Regions from separate parts of the Homo sapiens genome. Here region 1 is linked to region 2. Evidence: promoter capture Hi-C in human tissues and cell types (Jung and others, 2019). All regions are on one chromosome and are shown on one strand. Each heading gives the region's core, a stretch centred on a gene start or on the middle of the fragment in contact. The rest is flanking DNA. Distances are from core to core; before and after follow the strand shown.

Region 1 (2,700 bases), core at 170-2,669, 430 kb after region 2:
ACTGATGTGTAGTCTTGAATATAAAAACAGTTAAAAAGGCCTGTTTATCTACATCATAGGCTTTCTTTTCATTCCAAGTGATTCTTCACATCATTGATTGTCTGATGAAGAGCATCCTCCTTTGTGGACCTCTGGAAGGACAGCCTTTCAGATTCCCCTCAGAACTGCAGTTGTCTGTCTCTGTACTCTTTCAGATAACCAACTTATCATCCATATCAAAACAGAAAAATAAGATTAAGTATTTTATATGTGTCATGCAAAATTCTTGTATAGGAATACTTTCGATTTGTAGATATAAACATTCTAAGGTGTTTGATGTTTAGTATCATGAAGGGTTAAACTAAAAAGTTTAATGGGACATTTTACAGAGAACTGCTCTCACTTCACTCCAAGTGCAAATTCGGCAGTTTTTCAAAACTACCTTCACATTCAATAATTTCCTAGAAAGACCCTCAGAACTCACTGGATGTATTTATTCTCACAGTTACTGATTTTTACAAGCAAAAGATGCATATTATAGTTAACCAAGGGGGAAAAACCAAATAAGACAGAGTCCAGTGAAGTACCAAATGTGGATCTCCTATTGTATTCTCACAGTAGAGTCGGGCATGTTACATACCCAAAATTAGCATGTGACTTAGACACAAGGAACCACCAATCAGGGAAACTCAACTGAGTGCTGGGATCCAAGTAATTATTGGGGCTCCATTACATAGCCATAATTGGTTGGTTGATTCCTGTGTGGTTATTTAGTCTTTTGGTCCACTGGTTCCCTGTGACCTAAAGACCTACATTAAATCACATCGTTATTTTTTCTGACATGGGGAATGCCACCTGCCATTTCCCATCCCCCAAAGCTGTGGCTAGTCACAACCCTAAATTATATTATTTCACTGTCAAGAGTTACCCAAGATTTGCCCCCAAGCAAACAGAGAGACTCTCCTCAGGCATGCCCCTTCAAGATTCTACAGATTACCTCTCAGATACTGAGGACAAAGTCCTGACCTCTTTTTAGTTAGGTTAACTCCTTTTCTTATTTTTAAAAATGTTTTTTAAGCCATCTTAAACTGAAAGGAAGGTTAACTTCTTTATAAGGATATATAATATACAGGCAAATATACGAAGTATTTATTATGTTACTGCTTTCCCTTAGAGTTCCTTTTGATTCATATTTCATTACGTACATAATAGTTTAGTAATTTATCATGTAAAATTTCAGACTGAGTTGGAAATTTTAAAAACAGTAACAGGTTAAATGTATGTGTCATATTAATTTTTTATTAAACCTTTTATTTCTATCAATGATTTTTTATTTGAAATGTGGTATGTTTTTTTCTTTCTTTTCTTTTTTTTTTTTTTTTTTGAGGCAGAGTCTCACTGTGTCGCCCAGGCTGGAGTGCAGTGGCACGATCTCGGCTTGCTGCAACCTGCGCCTCCTGGGTTCAAGCAATTCTCCTGCCTCAGCCTCCCAAGTATCTGGGATTATAGGTGTGTGCCACCACACCTAGCTGATTTTTGTATTTTTAATAGAGACGGGGTTTCACTATGTTGGTCAGGCTGGTCCCGAATTCCTGACCTCAAGTGATCTGCCTGCCTCAGCTTCCCAAAGTGCCTTGGTCTCCCAAAGTGCTGGGATTATGGGTGTGAGCCACCGTCCCCAGTGACATGGTATGGTTTTAGATTACTCTCATGCAAACCAGAAACCAGGGTGCACTTGGAAAACACAAACTGAACATTCGTTGAAGTTTCATACCATGTCCTAAGTGTGAACTCTTAAAAACACTGAACAGGGCATAGCTTGTCCTGATCTCTTAATTTTGTATTCTGATAGGAGGCAAGATCCAACCTGAGATGAAGACTTTTCCAGAAGCAGGACCACATGAAGGGTGGTCCTGCCAGCAGATCTGGGAAGAAATTGCAAGTGATTTAACCAGGCCTCAAGACTCTACCATAAAGAGCTCTCAGTTCTTTGAACAGGGTGATGCCCACTCCCAGGTTGAGGAAGGACTATCTATAATGCACACAGGACAGAAACCTTCCAATTGTGGGAAGTGTAAACAATCCTTCAGTGATATGTCCATCTTTGATCTTCCTCAGCAAATACGCTCAGCAGAGAAGTCTCATTCCTGTGATGAGTGTGGAAAAAGCTTCTGTTACATCTCAGCGCTTCATATTCATCAGAGAGTCCACCTGGGAGAGAAACTCTTTAAGTGTGACGTGTGTGGTAAGGAATTCAGTCAGAGTTTACATCTGCAAACTCATCAGAGAGTCCATACTGGAGAGAAACCTTTCAAATGTGAACAATGTGGGAGAGGCTTCAGATGTAGATCAGCACTTACAGTTCATTGCAAATTACACATGGGAGAGAAACATTATAATTGTGAGGCATGTGGGAGGGCCTTCATTCATGATTTCCAGCTTCAGAAACATCAGAGAATTCACACAGGGGAGAAGCCATTCAAATGTGAGATATGTAGTGTGAGCTTCCGTCTTAGGTCAAGTCTTAATAGGCATTGTGTGGTCCACACAGGAAAGAAACCAAACAGCACTGGGGAATATGGAAAAGGCTTCATTCGTAGGCTGGATTTGTGTAAGCATCAGACGATCCACACAGGAGAGAAACCATATAATTGTAAAGAATGTGGGAAGAGCTTCAGACGGTCCTCCTATCTTTTGATCCATCAGCGAGTCCACACTGGA
Region 2 (2,705 bases), core at 112-2,611:
TCCTCTGTTCCTTCCAAAAGTGGCCTTATCCACCAGGGAGGGGTGACCCGTGGCAGGTTCAAGACTTACACAGTGTGAGAGTGTGTGTGGGTGACATTTCCTGACCTTGTCCCCATTCTCAGGGTCACCCAACCTCGGGGGTCTCCAGCTTCTCACAGTGTGTGATGAGGGTATGTGGATGGCTCCCTGGATGTCCTGGACAGGGGCTTCTCTGTGAGTCAAGCCTGGGTGTGTGAATGGGTGAGCAGGGTTTGGAGAGGCATTCGCTGAATCCACGTGTGTGCCTACACGCCAAGGTCCCCCATTCTCACTTCCCCACACACATGCACACAGATGTTCCCCTCCAGGGCTCTTTAGAATGCCCTGCCTGACTGAATTCCTCTTCAGGGGCACAGAGGGATAGAGAGAGGGAGGAAGGTAGGATGGGAATGGGAGATCCCGGGATGGAGGCTGTAAGCGTAGAGAGAGGAGGCACAGCAGAAAGACAGGGATGGAGATAGTGGGACAGAGAAGGGGGAAAGAGACAGGTGACAGAAAGGGTTAGAGAAACGAGTGACAGAAAGACAGGGGACAGAGACAAGGGGATGGGGCAGATAGGGGACAGAGAAAAAGGGACAGAAAAACAAGGGTGACAGCGAGACAGAGACAGGGACCAAGAATAGGGGCAGAGAGGGAGGGCAGAAATCCGGGGGAAAGAGAATAGACAGGATGATGGAGGGGACAGAGTGACCCAGGAAAAGGGGACAGAGACCAGGGGACAGAGGTAGGGGACAAAGACAGAATAGATGAGGAACACCGAGGCAAGAAGAGAGGGAGACAGACAGAAGGAGGGACAGGACTTCGAGACTGAGGGATAGAGGACAAGGGTAGGGGGACGAGGAGCCAGACGGGGGGGTTCAGAGACGGGCGGACAGAGGGACGCAGAGACTGGACAGAAGGACAGCGGGACCGGCCTGGGGAGGGCGGACTTGTGTGTGTAGGGGGGTCTCGGGCCCTTTGTCCCCGCCGGGATCCAGCCTGCGCGGGTGGGGGGGCTGCGGCACGGCGGCCGGGCCCCGCGCCCCCTCCCCCGCTCGTCGCTCCCGGCTCCCGGCCCGCGCTGCGCTTTGTCCCGGGGAGGGGGCCCGGCCCGGCCCCGCGCGCATTGTTCGGCCTCTGCGGCCCCGAGGCTGCCGGGCTGTCACCACAGCGCGCCCCCCGCCCCAGCCCGGCCGGCCGACCCCGGCCCCCGACCCTACCTGGCCCCGCCGCGGCCGCCCACAGCAGCAGCAGCGGCCACTGGAAGCGCCGGGCCCGGCCCATGGTGCCGCCGCCGCCGCCGCCGCCGCTCGCTCCCGGCCCGGCACCTGCACCGCCCGCGCCGCCCGCCCCGCCCCCCGCGCCCCGCCCCCTGCCCGCCCGGGGGCGGGGCGCCGAGGCCGGGGCGGGGCCGGGGAGGGGAGGGGGAGACGGAGGAGAGGCCCGGAGACAATCGGGGGGACGGCACGGTGGGGGAACGGTGCGGGGTGCGAAAGCTGGAGAGGAGAGGGGTGAGGAGGGCGGGAAGGGGTGCGCGGGAGGGCGACAGCGGCGTGGGAGCAGGTGGGGGATCTCGGTGAGCGCGGGAAATGGAGGGTGTTGGGTGAGGGTGCTGCGTGCGGGCCCAGGTGCTGCGCGCGAGGGTGCGGAGTTGCTGGCATGCAGGGTGCTTGCGCTGCGCGGAGGGGAGGGTGGCAGGGTGTTGCTGGAGGCTGTGCGAGGGTGGGGGCGCGGGCGTCGTGGGGTGCGGTGTGTGCGAAGGGAGAGCGTGGCCAGCGTGACGGGGGAGCGTAAGGGAGGGAGTGCGACGTGGGAAAGGTGAGTGTGAGAGGCGTGCTGCGGGCAGGTGGGTGTCTGGAGTCTAGCGAGAGGCTGTGAGCTGAGCCACCGGGACAGGGGAGGCTGCAGCTGGAGGTCCGGAGGGTCCGGAGGTCGAGGCAGGTCAAGGATCTCCCAGGGCAGGGCGAGGCTGGGGCTCAGGAGTGGGGTGGGGTCAGTTCCCTCCCTCCCTCTCTCCTGTCCTGACCTGAAAACCCCGTGTTTCCGCGTCATTCTCCGGGAGGGGCCCCCTGAAAGTGAACTAACTGGAAGGAAGCCTGAATCCTGGGTCCCAGGAGGGAGAGGCTCCTGTGAACACCTTCCAAGCCCTGGCGTCCCCTCTCCTCCCTGCTGTCTCCCTGCCCCAGCCTCTCTCCCTCTCTCTGCATGTATTTGCCTCTGCCCTTCCTCTCTCCCCATCTTTGAGGGTGACTCACCCCTCCAGACTTAGGTCCCTTCTCCCTCCTGGGAGTGGGTTTCCCTGAGCCCACTTCTGTGACACCCTGTAGACCTGATGCGGGATCATTACCTATGGGACCCAGAAAGAGTGAGAAACCATGGAAAGAAGGCCTCGACCTCTCTCATGCCCATTTGTCAGGCAAACTGAGGTCCAGAAGTGCCAATTATGAACATCTTTCCTTCCCCCCTCCCCCCTCCCCGCCCAGACGGAGTCTCGCTCTGTTGCCCAGGCTGGAGTGCAGTGGCACGATCTCGACTCACTGCAACCTCTGCCTCCCAGGTTCCAGTGATTCTCCTGCCTCAGCCTCCCGAGTAGCTGAGATTACAGGCGCCCGCCACCATGCCTAGCTAATTTTTATATTTTTAGTAGAGACGGAGTTTTGCCATGCTGGCCAGGCTGGTCTTGAACT

The links. The method cuts DNA at HindIII sites, captures the fragments that hold promoters and counts their contacts. A contact is called where the count stands out against the background at its distance.
Region 1: a fragment that was not itself captured here is called in contact with the fragment with the promoter of CADM4 in region 2 in 2 of the 25 tissues and cell types used here (dorsolateral prefrontal cortex and lymphoblastoid cells).

Annotation. Positions count from the first base shown.
Region 1 is chr19:44,064,233-44,066,932 of GRCh38, forward strand. It overlaps ZNF223 (zinc finger protein 223), which reads left to right. Exons shown (of 5, transcript NM_013361.6): 5 at 1,832-2,700. Among named protein-coding and RNA genes, the nearest start is that of ZNF284, 6.6 kb to the right of the region's middle. The HindIII fragment of the contact is 6,488 bases long and covers 1-2,700 here.
Region 2 is chr19:43,638,489-43,641,193 of GRCh38, forward strand. CADM4 (cell adhesion molecule 4) reads right to left here and starts at 1,362. Exons shown (of 9, transcript NM_145296.2): 1 at 1,239-1,362. The coding sequence starts at 1,302. RefSeq lists a silencer at 1,246-1,385. The HindIII fragment of the contact is 16,381 bases long and covers 1-2,705 here.